Regions from separate parts of the Homo sapiens genome. Here all the other regions are linked to region 3. Evidence: promoter capture Hi-C in 16 types of primary human blood cells and fetal thymus (Javierre and others, 2016). All regions are on one chromosome and are shown on one strand. The core of a region is centred on a gene start or on the middle of the fragment in contact, and the rest is flanking DNA. Distances in the headings are between cores, read along the strand shown. Region 1 overlaps LOC105378534 (a long non-coding RNA gene). Region 2 overlaps CPXM2 (carboxypeptidase X, M14 family member 2). Region 3 holds the start of GPR26 (G protein-coupled receptor 26).

Evidence for each region. The method cuts DNA at HindIII sites, captures the fragments that hold promoters and counts their contacts. A CHiCAGO score of 5 or more calls a contact.
Region 1: a contact is called between a fragment that was not itself captured here and the fragment with the promoter of GPR26 in region 3, in 1 of 17 cell types (endothelial precursors). The highest score is 6.3, in endothelial precursors.
Region 2: a fragment that was not itself captured here is called in contact with the fragment with the promoter of GPR26 in region 3 in 1 of 17 cell types (endothelial precursors); the score reaches 6.3 in endothelial precursors.

Annotation. Positions count from the first base shown.
Region 1 is chr10:123,905,199-123,909,192 of GRCh38, reverse strand. LOC105378534 (a long non-coding RNA gene) reads right to left here. Exons shown (of 3, transcript XR_001747622.2): 3 at 226-2,255. It also overlaps a transcript of CPXM2 not described here. Among named protein-coding and RNA genes, the nearest start is that of CPXM2, 15 kb to the right of the region's middle. The HindIII fragment of the contact is 3,557 bases long and covers 103-3,659 here.
Region 2 is chr10:123,885,471-123,890,016 of GRCh38, reverse strand. All of the region lies in intron 1 of CPXM2 (carboxypeptidase X, M14 family member 2), which reads left to right. Among named protein-coding and RNA genes, the nearest start is that of CPXM2, 4.1 kb to the left of the region's middle. The HindIII fragment of the contact is 1,527 bases long and covers 2,126-3,652 here.
Region 3 is chr10:123,664,954-123,669,457 of GRCh38, reverse strand. GPR26 (G protein-coupled receptor 26) reads right to left here and starts at 3,103. Exons shown (of 3, transcript NM_153442.4): 1 at 2,383-3,103. The coding sequence starts at 3,050. RefSeq lists enhancers at 2,281-2,818, 2,819-3,357, 3,358-3,895. The HindIII fragment of the contact is 9,100 bases long and covers 1-4,504 here.

The sequences.
Region 1 (3,994 bases), core at 632-3,131, 240 kb before region 3:
CCCGTGTCCCGAGCTACACGAATCCTGCTCTTATACTGTCTTGTGTGGGATCCGCTATGCCTGAGGTTGATGGCAGAGTGTGCCTGTGCCCAGCCAAAAGCTTGAACCTACAGCTTCAAAAGGGCAGAATTGCCTCTTAAAAGGTCAAGTCAATGCATTAGGTTATTACAAAGTATTCACTTAAATTTAGTGAGAGTTAACAATGAGCCTCCTGGCTTGTGTTTACAGCTTTAAATCTTTTTTTTTAATTGAAGATATAAGGTACTGTTAGCAAAATTTACATAGAGTGAATTAGATGTAAAGTGTACAGTTTGTTGATTGTACACTGCTGATTTATAGATTGTACATTTAACAAATGTATAATGTGTACCTGAACCATGATATGGAATATTTTCTTCACTGCAGAAGGTCTCCAGTGCCCTTCTGCCATTAAAAACCTCATGGCTGTTTAAAGCTGCAGTGAACTTGAACACATGGATAGATCCTGCCCACCTCCAGCTGTTCTGGAGAACTCTGCTCAGTTGTCTGGTCCCTGTGCAGCCATTCCTGGTACCCCAAGCAGATGGACCAGGTGGCCCCTCTCCCCACACCTGTCTCCTTGCCCCGAGCCCTCCATGGTAGCCTTGACCTCCTGGGAGGGTGGTCCTCATCTGCATGTCTGTCTCCCTACTAGGCTGCAGATTGAGTCCTTGTGGCCGACTTCCCAGAACCTGCCCGGGGTCTGGCTCTGGCATGAGCTCAGCCAGTATTTTCTGATTGAGTGATCGAATGAAGAAACTTGCAGGTGATCTGGCTTATCTGCAAACAGGATGGTTTCTGCATTTGGCCTTAGCAGAGAGTCTCTTGTCAATAGCTGCTGCTCAAGCTGTAGCCTTTGGAATCTAAGTGTTCTCACTTCCTAGTCTTTCTCCAGCAGAAGTCCCCTGCACAAGCCCCCACCCCATCCTTTCCTCCTCTCTCCTTCCCACCTGCGGCCACTCCAGGACGTCCTACTGGTGCTACCCCTAACAGTGGACTTGAATCTGTCCCCTTCTTCCCTTCTCCACAGTCCCTGTCCCATCCCAAGTCACCACTATCCCTCCCCTGCACAAGCCCCAGACTGGTCTACCAGCATCCCCACTTTCTACCCAATCCTGAATATGGTCCTTGTCACATCTCTCCCCTGTTTAAAGTCTCCTATTGAGTCCTTGCTTCCTCCCTTCCTTTCTCACTTCTTTCATTTCCTTCTTCCCCTTTTCCTTTCCTCCCCCTCCCTTCCTTCCTCCTGCTTCCCCTCTCTTCCTTTTTTCTTTTTAAAATGTTTATCAAAAGCTCTGTATGTTTTGCTGATGTATTGCCTGGTTTAGCACAATCCCCCTAGTCCCCACACTAGAAAATAAGCTCCATGAAGGCAGGGATGGTGCCTTCAGTGTACATCTGGGTGGGCGCCTTGCGGGGTCCAGTCCCTTTCTTGGCACCAAGGAGATGCTATTTGATGGGCACATGAATGAACTTGTGGGAGGGGGGGCATCTATGTTTCTGTAATGGGAATGATAGAAGACACATTTTAAACTATCCCCCAGAAATGTCAGAGCTTTTGGGGAACCTGTAGCCAGTTTCTAAGAGAAAAATGCACAGGATGGTGCCGTGTCACCTAAGTGATCCCCAGTAGGGTCAGGGTGGGACTTGGGGTGGGGGTGGGGGATTGTGCTGGTGACCACATCCTCCCTGTGCTGCGGGAGGGTGGGTAAGGACGCTGCGAGGGCCCCGCCCAGCGATGCCGCTTCTCTGTGTGTTGTCCTCCCCAAGTAAATGCAGTTTTAGGATAACATTGCATAAAGCACAGAAATGTGAGAAAAAGTAAAATCTGACTTGAATAATAGTCTCTCTTCTAATTACAGAAAGCTGTGTGGTTTGAAAGGAACAGAGTTTTCCATTAAGAGGTCTCTAAAAATAGTCTTTGTGAGTTGAACTGCCTTCTCCAGTTTCAGCCTGAATGTTAATTACACTAGCAAATCGTGTTGGCAGCAGGAGCAGGTATGTCTACCACACCGCTGTGGCAGTCTCTCGTAAACACTCGGTGCTGATGGAAGCCCTCCTGGAAACTCTACTATTTAGAACACACATGCACACACCGTGCTTCGTGTTTCCTAAGGTGCCTCTCAGCATGAACTTTGCATCAAACTTGTAGGGCAGAAACTCGTAAATCCTTTAGGTGAACTTCAGATGGGTAGCAGGCATCCACCAGGCAGCTTCTGGGCAGTTGGAAATTTCACCTGAAGAAGACAAGAGCTGGTTATTGCAAGGGAGGCAGCCAGACATCCACCTGGAAAGCAGCAAAGACATCCTCCCTAATCTCTTGATCCGGCACAATTTGGGGGTTGCTTTCCATCCTGGTCCTTGGTTTGGGACTCTGCTTTCTCTCCTAAAAGTGCATGGGGATGGCTTGAATCCTGAGGCCATGTGAGAAGTTTCTTGCATAGATTTCCTGTCTTTGGAAGGCCCCAGATCTTTTGGAGCCAAGTTTGGGGGTCTTCAGGGCACATGAGGCGAAATGAAGTATTTATTTCTGATTACTTTTTCAGTTTGGCATTCCACAGTGAGGAATTTGCAGTTTAAGTTTTATGAAGTGTTGCAGCTTCTGGATTTAATTTAAATTTTATTCCAATATCATGCACACATGCTCAGAACCTCAGAGGCAGCTGAGTGAAGCTGACATGATTTATAGCAAGGGTGTTTGGGGAACAGTGATTTGGCAGATCCATTAAGATCCCGTAGCTGTCTGGAAGAAAGGTGCTGTATCTATGAGAGTGAGGAGGCTACTGTGGGTGAGGAGGAGGAGTGAGCTGGCCTTGACTCAGCATTGGGCCTGACATTTACGTAGCGTTTCATTTTGTGAAGCACCTTGGTTCCATCTCTCTTCTAGGTAGACATTAGTGTCTCATTTTATAGATCAGGACACAGAGGCTCAGTAAGGTTAAAGAACGAGGTTAGCCTGTAGTGTGCCCATGTTGCCCTTCGGTCACATTTCTGAGGACTTCTGGGATGAAATGCATGGACTTGGGGATCCGGAGTGGGAGATGGGTGCAGGAGCAGACAGGGGGAGGCTTTCTGGAGCTGGCAAGGCTATGCCTGGCAGTGGGATGTGAGAGCAAAGGTGCGGGCCATGTGGATGACCTGCCCCCACTTCAGTACCTGGGCGTCACTGGCCGAAGGAAGAGTGGACAGACCGTCGGGAGGTGGGGCTTGGCCTGTTCACATAGAACCCGAGAGCCAGAGCTCGGGCTCTGGACATCAGCCTCAAGGTGGCCTGGAAAAACCACAGGGCTTGAGCGTGTCTCCTGAGGGGGAGATGGCAAAGGCAGCGTTTCTGGGTGAGGAGTCAGAACGCAGGAGATGGAGGATGACTGGGTGAGGGTGGGGTGGGAGGCAGGAAGGCGAGAAACAGAAGAAACTACAGGCAAGAGGGCTGGGAGGGGACCCCCAGGATGGTCTGACCCTGGCATCACAGAGACGGCTTCGTGAATAGGGAGAAGCTGCGTGGGAAGGAGCAGTGGGAATGTACGGTCACATTAGGTGGGAGGCAGCCTAGACCCAGGGGCCAGAGGAGGTCTGGAATCTCTTGTGCTGGGTTGGGCCATCCCTCGGTCATTGGCATCCTCTGCCCTGGACTGAAAGCTTCAGAGCTGTGGTCAAGCTTTATCAGAAAAGTCAGGGGCTCAAACGGCAGGGTCATCTGTCCAATGCCCGGATTGGCAGATGGGACAGCTGAGGCCTTGAAAGCCTCAGGCAAAGAGAGTGGCATCCCGAGAGCCAAAGTGGCTCCTTGTCCAGTGCTCTGTCCCTGTGCTGCACTATCTGAGACCATGGCTTTATCAGAAGGTCACACCATCCCAGCACAGAATCCAAGCAGGGCAGTCAAGCTGCTCGCGGAAGGCCTTTCATTCTGGAAGCACTGCCTGCAAATGGCCCGGCTCCCAGGCTGTGTGGCGGGGTTCATTCTTTTCTCTTCATT
Region 2 (4,546 bases), core at 1,640-4,139, 220 kb before region 3:
GATATTTGAAAGCCTTTCTTCTGTCCTTTTTAACTCAAGGCCTTTTTGGTTTGGTAGTTTGAATCAAATCCACATGCATTCTAGTTTTTTTTTAAGTGCCTGCAATGTGCTTAGCTCCGTCCTGGGCATGGTAGGGTGGTGTAGGCAGGAGACATGTATGTTGGGTTCTGGCAGTCACTGGGGGTAGTGCTAAGGGGGAAAGTGGAAGAGAGCCCCAGACTGGGAGTCTGAAGACTGGGCCTAACACCCATGTTTAGGGCTCATCAACTTGGGGATCTGGAATCATGGCTCAGTTTCCTGAGCTTTAACTTCATCATCGTTTGCAAATAGGAAGACTGCACCTGCCACCTCACTTTACTTTGTCAATTGCTGTAAAAACCTTTTTAATGAAAGCTTCCAGTGTGCCTGCCCGCTTATGTGCTGGTCTTCCTGTGAACCTTTCATTCATTCCACAGGCCGTTACCAAGAACCTGCTAAGCACTGGTGCTGGGTGAGATCCTAGGAATGGGGAGAGCAAGACGTTCCTCTTCCCTGCCCCCCAGCCCCCGCCCCCCACCACATGGAACTAGCTGGGAACTCTGAGAAAGTAATCACAGTTGTGTTAAGGGTTGCACAAAAGTGTGGGGTGTTAAGGTAACAAACAAGCTGGGGGAGCTCACTGAATCTGTGGGGGCTTGCGTAATGCTTCCCCGAAGAGGTGATGTTTAAGACTTGACAAGTAAGTCAGCTTGATTGTCCTGGGGACTCGTACAAGTGACCGGACATCATTCCTAAGATAGGTTTCTTTCCCTACAAAACACATCTCAGAAAGTCACAGCCTGGCCTGAGCAGTGTCCACAGACTAATGTGTCTGCAGACTCAGGGGTTACATGGGGAAGTGACTCTCTTTAGTCCTTGGAGAAACAGCTCTTGCCACTCTTGGAATGGGGTCTCTGGAGGAGAAATCAGAGTGTAACCTGAATTTGCAAGAAAAAGCTCATTTGGTTTTGGAAGGCCATCTTGCAGGTAGAGACAGGCCATGGGGGAGCCTGTTGATTCGGTGCCTAGCCTCTGCTCCTGCAGGACACATTGCCCAGTTCACCGCAGCCCTGGCATCCACCGGGATCTCCAAGCCCCATACTGAAAACACGTCTTCGGAAGATCTAGAGACTCACATCAGAGGCCTGTTGGGACAGCTGCCTGCAGACCTGCTACCATGTCAGCTGTGTTTCTAATGAATTCTGTGGGGCTTTTTTAGAGCTCTCCCCAACCATGACAAGACAAGTGTGACATTTATCTCATATTTTTAACTCCTGTCCTTTTTTATTTTGGTGTTTGCTCAGCAGAATCCTCTGCCCTGGACCAAAGTGGGAAGACTGGTTTAAGCGTGAACTTAGTTAGGGGAATCAGTGACAGTTTTGTGCAGTTAAACTACACTAGGAGAAAATTATTTTTTTTCTACTTTAAGTAGCGGCTTGATCTATATGCTGCTCGTGGTGTAATAGAAGCACTTATCTCTGCATTGGATTGTTTTGGAATATCTTAGGAAGGCACTTACATAGGAAGGAACATTGGACTGTGGCCTGGAGTGTTTAATGCAAACTTCTGTACTTTGCTTCACTGGGTGGATGATGCAATGCTATGTATGAGGCACTGAGGTGGGAGTGAGGGGTTCAATTTAGAGATGCATAACAGTATAAAAGCATATATAACTAATTAAAAGTCTATATGTACTTTATCTTTGCAGATGATAAAATATTTCCCAGATAGCTCTTGTTTTGCATAAAGGTGAGTGCAAGGAAAGATGTATTCAGCAGTGATTCCCCACACAGGCAGATTTTCTATGTGGTAGGCCCTAGGAGGGAGCCCTGTTTTAACCCTGTAGCGGGGTTTATGCAAGGAGCCAAGGGCATTGGGGATTTGATCTTGATGTGGGTTCTGGCTTTGACCATTGGCTGTTCTTTCGCACCACCACAGAAATGCCCAATGGGTGTGACATGCTGACATTCATGGAGATGCTTGGAGAACTGAACCCTTTGGCTAACTGAGAGTATTGCATTTTCCATGAGTGGCTAACAGGTTTCCAGAGAAGTAGAGCCCCAATATATTAAACAGAATGGAATCTTTAAAAACATTTATTTAAGCTTTTATTTTGAAATAATTATAAACTCACAGGAAATTGCAAAAATAGTACACTGAGGCCCCATGTACGCTTTGTCAGCTCCCCCCAGTGATAACCTCTTAGATGATTCTAGTACAAGATACTTCAATCTTGGCAGGATTGATGTTTTGGGCCAATTGTGTGTTTGTTTGTGTATGTGTGTGTGTGTGTTGTGTGTACGTGCCAACAGAGGAGGAAGGGGGTTGCCTTCCTGTGTATTGCAGGATGTTTAGCAGTGTCCCTGGACTCCAAATTGGATGCCAGTAGCACCCTCCCCCCTGTTGTCACAACCAAAAATGTCTCCAGACATTGCCAAATATCCCCAGGGGGATGGGAGTCACTGTTGTATACAGTATCAAAATGAGGAGGTTGACAGTGATACTGTTAACTAGATTACATGCCTTACTCAGATTTGACCAGTTCTTACATGCATTTGTAGGCATGTTCTCTGTAGTTTTTATCACATGTACAGGTTCATGGAACCACCACCACTGTCAGGATATGGAACCGTAGAATCTTTTTCTTAGGTTGCAGTAGGATTTTGGTACTGTACAGTTTCTGAGGTCCTCATTGTGAACACTCATCCATCCGAGAATTTTAGAACTCTAAGGACCTAAGTGGACACTGAGCACAGATTCTTGCTTATTGCGAGATTCTAACAGTGAGCTGCCCGGCCTCTGCTCACAGGCTTCCATGGATGGACTCTCACCATTCAGTGGATGAAGAGTACTTATTGCTAGAATGTTCTTCCTCATATGAACTTGACAACGTTCTGCTCTCTAATTCCATTTATTTAGCTGTTTCGAATTGAATTTGACAGTTTCTAGATCCCTGCAGTTGGAATGATTTAAGGCCACGGGAGTGAATCTCAGGTCCTCAGTTTTCATTCTCCCAGGGTTATGAATAAGGTAAGGGGCCACATTTTGCACGTGCAAGTGGATTTGGGGGTGTCTTACTTTCCATGCCATCTTCAAATTGATGACCCTGGTTTGCAGCCATATTCCTTTTGAAGAATAAAATAGAACAGAAAAATAAACCATAGTTATAGAACTTATCCTTTTCCTCCCACTTGGCAGTAACAATCAAATCAAATAATAAGCTGAACTATTGATTTGAATGAGGGATTTGAAGATTTTATTTATTTCTCTCTTCATTGCACATTGGGTTAGAAGTAGGCTTGGATATGTAGTCTTTAAATTTGAGTTTCTGCTTGGTCCTTTGTTCATAACTTTCTTCCTGTGCTGGTGAGAATGCACCGCTGTTTGAATGTGGACAAACCCACATCATCGCCATAGTCTTGAGCCCGTGGAATTTGCAGAGGGGGCAGCGAGCCACGTTTGTTTGTGTGTCTGTGCTCAGAATCATTGAGTTTGCATTTTGTACTGTGCTGGGCCCCAGTTGCAGGGGGAAATAACCAAAGAGTTGTTCTTTGAGCATATTTGGTTGTAAACAAAGCCTTTTCTGTTGTGTGTGCCGTAAGCCAGTTGGTGAAAAGGGCTTCACATTTAAGCTTTCCTTCTCTTTTCAGTGTGTTTTGCTGCATTTGGCTTTTGGATGGAAATGTCTTCTCCTGGGCAAAATGGGAGTGTGTAAGGATTAGGAAGCTGTGTTTGTAAATATTTCAATAAGTACTTTAAAAAGCAATCACAATGCTATTAGCATACCTAAACAATTAACAAGCAATCCTTCATGTCAAATTATATGCTTACTTTAAGAGTTAAATCCAAAGTGTTTTGTCCAGGTAAACTCCCTATAGAATTCCAAGGGAGAGGACGTCATTTCCTGTACATTAGCAAGCAGCTTTCTAAGACACCACCTCCATTTCCAAAATGCTTTCCAAAGTCAACTATTAATGCTGGCAAATTTCCTCTTGCCTGTGCCCAAGGTTCCAGAAACCAGGGCTCGCGCATGGATAATAAAGGAGGACACACCCACGTTTGCGAAAGCTGGACTGCATGCTGTGGTTCTTAAAAATAGCCACTGTGTTTTCTGTATGCCTCAAGTGTCCATGGCTGCTAGAGCTCATGGCACCTTTAGTGTGGGGACAATGGCAGCCTGGCCCTGGAGCCTTGACTTTTGAGGTGGAGGTTTTCTCTGGATGTCCCTGAGGGTCCAGGGAGCCTGAGCATTCAGGCTTGGCATCTCCAGCAATGGCTCTGCCCTCTGTGGCCCTCTCAGGCCCCAGCCACTGCAGCTACCACTCTGGGGTCACAAAACCCAGGAAATTAGGGTTTCTTTGGATGGCCACTGGAAGGGCTGGCATCCACATCTGGCTGGCAGCCAGCTGGCTACTCGTTGGGCATCATAGGATGGTTAGCATGGCACAAAACAGCTTCACATGTTAATTTAAGCCCCTGATGTCACAGATTTGTATGGAATGCCTGGTTCATGCTAGGCACAGGTAGG
Region 3 (4,504 bases), core at 1,854-4,353:
GGTGGTGCCTGGGGCAGCCCCTGAGCTAGCTCTGTACTTGCTCATTTGTAGGGAGGAAGAGTTTAGTGCTGTCAAGATAGAAGCTGGTGGACTGGCTGTCAGGGTCTCTTGAGGACTGGTCATCCCCTCCTGTGTTGTCCCTCCCACATGCTTGGCGGGGATCAACCCCTCAGAGAAGGACAAGTTTGTATTCACTAAAGGGGCAGTGCTATCAGGTCTGCCACTATTCCATGACCTCAGGGAGCATTAGTCCAGGGAGCCTGTTGGCACTGGCCGATGGCAACCCCGGCCCCAGAAGTCTTTTCTCTCTCCAATGAGACTGGGCCTGGAGGGTCCCAGGGCACTGGGAGCAGGGGCTCTTCAAAGCAGCCCGGGGCTAGGAAGAGATCAAGGTCCTCCCAGAGGAATGGAGGGGAAATCGAAGGCAAGCAGAGTAGCTGCCTCCACTCCTGAGACCCCAGGACTCTCTCTGCAGTGTCTGGCCTGACATCGGCCAGAGGGATTTGCAGGAGTGGAGCTGGCCCTACATCCCAAATAGGCTGAACAGGAACCACGGCCCCTCCTCTTCTGGAAGTTGGAGGAAGAGTGGGAATGCAGTTTGTACTGCTCTAAATAAGAACTGGTTCCACTCCCAGCTCAACCCTCCTCCGCTGTTAGACTCATGGTGAGAGGGCCCCCTCTAGGAGTCTTTAGTCCCGGGAGTTAAACAACATTGCCCTACATCTTCTAAGAGCAGTCCCAGCCCAAGCGCTAAGGATGCACCCTCTAAGGAAGAGCCTCTCAGCTCTGAGTCATGGAAAGGGCAATAGCTCTGCAACTGTGGCTGCAAATATTTCCTTGAAGGACACTGAACCATGCAGAGACATGTGCTGTGACAGCCAATGTATGTCTTTGTGGCAGAATGCACTCGTGTCACTCCTGTAAACCTGTGTACACATGGCCAGCTGTCTGGTACATATACAGTTTATGTGTGAACACATGAGATTGTGTGTGGAGCTCCCACGTTTACATGGCCTGGTATCTATGTGCTCTCAGTCACTCACATGTACATTCTGTTCCTGAATCTGTGGGGATTCTGTGGCTGGAAGATTGGTCCAGTGTGTAATCAGGAATGGCTGTGCTCAGGGGGACAATGAACACGTGCACACTTGCCCTTCAATGTGTCGGCATTGTGAAGGTCAAGGACTGCTTGTTACTGCTCTCGTGCAGGAAATACTCAGAATGCTCAGCCTGACACCTCCAGCCTGTCCCCTTCAACCCTGGTGTGGAACATATCCACCAGAGGATAGAGCTTCCTCTGCCCCGAGGCTCCCCTGGGTTCCCAGGGTTCTCCCACACGGAAGGCCCTCGCTGGCCCTGTCAGAGCTCTCTGCCTGCCTCACCTGCGACACCATCTGGACCCCAGCACCCCCTTATCTAGGGTCCCAGGACACAGAGCAGGGAGCCTGCCTTCCCCTGGGACAACAGGATGTAAAATAGCAGAGTCCAGACGCTGCCAGCTGTTTCCCTCCTCGATTTCCTATTCTCCTGGGGAAAGCTGAGGTGAGCTCAGGACAGCGCAGCTAAGAGTTCCCTCCTTCTCTCCCTGACAGGCTCCTGCGATGGCAGGGGTTCCCAGAGGGTACCCATGCTTGCCCAGCTCCATCTGCCCTCCTGAGAACAGCAGCCAGCGTGACGACGGAGGTGGGGGCAGATTCAGCCCCAGGAGCCTTGGGGCACACTCCTTCTGCAGGAGCCTCTAGGCACCAAGTCAGGCAGACATTGGACAGTGCTCTCTGGGGAGGGCAGGAAGAGCCCCCCACCCCACCCCTCAGGGCCCACCACAGAGAAGGACGCAGCCCGAGTCCATCAGAATTCACACACACACACACACACACACACACACACACACACACAGTCGTGAGACAGAGGCAGCGCCACACACCCGAGAAGGGAAAGACTCAGAGAAGCGACACACTTGGGTCTGAAAAGCTCTTAAGGAGCTCCCTAAGCATCGAGGCCGCCCTCTCGGCCAGAATCAAACACTTTGAAGGTCTTTAATAGGGAACAAAGACCACGGACTTCCCATGTGCCATTTAAAGTGAAAGCTACAAACACAGAAAATGTGCATGAAGAAGCCCAACAGAGTTCTGACTGTCTGTGATTTCTACCCTGATGCTTCAAAAACCGATGTATAGATGGGCTCACCCGCATTTTTTGTGGCCCTGGTTTGCTGATACCCTAAGCACCTCCTTAAGCCCCACAGCTGGGCCGCTTTCCCCACCCTCGAGTTCTCAGAAGAAACAGAGGCTCGGTGGAAAAGAGCCCCTGGGGCTAGGGACCTCCCACTCCCGCCGAGATCCCGCGCGGCTGTTCCCAGAGCCTTAGCTGCGCTCGGCTCACCTGGGGTGCAGGTCCACCAGCAGCACCAGCGTCTGCATGGTGATCACGTCGATGCGCTTGCAATGGAAGCGGGCCACCTTGAGCACCTTGAGGTACGTGCAGCAGAGCACGACGAAGGAGAGCAGGAAGCTGAGAGCGTGGAAGGCGCCAGTGAAGACGGCGAAGCGCAGGCGCTCGTCTGGCCGCCGGCTGCACAGCGTGCACGAGGCGTACAGCTGGTGGAAGCCGAGCCAGGACAGGGCGAGCGCGGCGGCTGGGAAGGTGAGCGCGTGCAGCCACGTGTAGGCCACCATGAGCGCCGCGTCGCGGAGGCGCATCTTGGCCCGGTAGCTCAGCGGGAAGACCACGGCCACCCAGCGGTCGATGCTGAGCGCGGCCATGCTGAGCATGGAGTTGGCAGCCAGGAAGGTGTCGAGGAAGGCAGCCAGGCGGCACAGGCGGTCGCCCGCCGGCTGCCGCTGCGCCACGACGCCGGCCAGCGTGAGCGGCATGTTGACCACGGTGCACAGCAGGTTCCCGCACGTGAGGTTCAGGGTGAAGAGCGCCGGCGCCTGGCGGCGGATGTCCGCGCTGTGCAGCAGGCAGAGCAGCACCAGCGCGTTGGACAGCAGCGAGACGCCCATCGTGCCCACCAGTAGCCCCGCCAGGCCCGCGTCCCACGAGTTCATGGTGCGCGCCCCGCGCCGGCGCTCAGGGTCCGCAACCCGGCGCCGCCATGGCGCTGCCCGCGGCCGGCTCAGCCCCTCGGCGCCGCCGCCGCCCGGCGACCACCGGCCCCAGCCGCCATGGCTCCCAGGAGGGCGCGCGGCCACCCCGGAGCCTCAGGCGGCCTCCCGGGCAGGCGTCTGGGCGCGCAGCCACCCGGGAGCCCCGCGCCGCCTCACGGGCAGGCACCTGGCGCGCGGCAGTGAACCCTGGCCCCCAGCAGCACCTCTGGAGCCAGCGACTGAGCGTGCGGTAGAACCCGAAGCCTTTAGCGCCCCGGGATCCTGGGTTGCAGGCACCTGCGCCCCTGCTCCGCCTCTGCCTCTGCTTCCTCCCGCTCTCACCCCATGCCCGCGAGCTCTGTCTCCGCTCCGCTCCGCGCACCCTCCCGCTCTCTTGCTTTCTCTCTTCCTCCCTCTCTGCTCTCTGGCTCGCTCTCTCTCTCTCTGCTCTCCCCTCCACCTCTCTCCCTCTCCCCGCCCCCCGCGCTGTTCTCTCCGTCTGTCTCTCCCACCCCCAATTTTCTCCCCTCTCTTGTTCTTCCCCCTCCTCTTCTCTCTGTCTCTGGAATCTGGCTGCTTCTATCACAGAAATCCCCACTGGTGCACACACAGACACACTCGCGCACACACACTCACACTTACAGGCTCGGAGGGAACCAGCCCCGAAGGCTCCGGTGCAGGGTGATTGGCTCACTGTGGCTCCCTTCCCCCAACATCCTCCATCCCCCCGTGTGTGTCAAAGACAGGCTGAGTCAAGGAAATCTCTCTGAGAAAAGGAAGGGATGCCTGGACACCTTCACGCCCCAGTGCCACCTGTCCCCGCCTGCATGCTATCCTGGCAGACCTTGACGTGAGTGTCCCAGCCTGTCTGTCCCAAGAACAGCTGCTGCATGACTGAGGTTACTCGATTCTCAGTGCCTTCTTTCCCTCGCCCTACAGCCAGAGCTTCGGCTGAATCCTAAGCCTGCTGCAGGGACCCCGAGGCTCTCTGTAACATCCCCTGGGCATCTCTCCAGCTGGGAGATGCCTTTGCTGACCCTGACTGCTCCCACCTGGGCAAGCCAGGCTGTCCACAACCAGCCTAGACAGCTAACCCTAGTATGGTGGATACTCTGTTGTCCTGCTCCAAGTTCCAGCAGCTGCCTCCTGTAGCCCTGAAGCCACACACCCCTCTGCCCTGAGACTGGTGAGGCAGCACATTCTAGTTTATGAGGGACCTGCCTGATATAAGGTGCCAGAACTCTTCAGAAAATGGGGAGGGTGTCAGCTGGCAGGCATGGTCCAAGCAACAGAGACCCTGGACACAGGGGACCCCTGCCTCCCCTCAGCAAAGTGTGCAGGGACTGTGGCCCTTCGGTTCTCAACCAAGACTCTGTGGGGAAGGGGTGGGGATGGACAGGCAGGGGCAGCTCTCA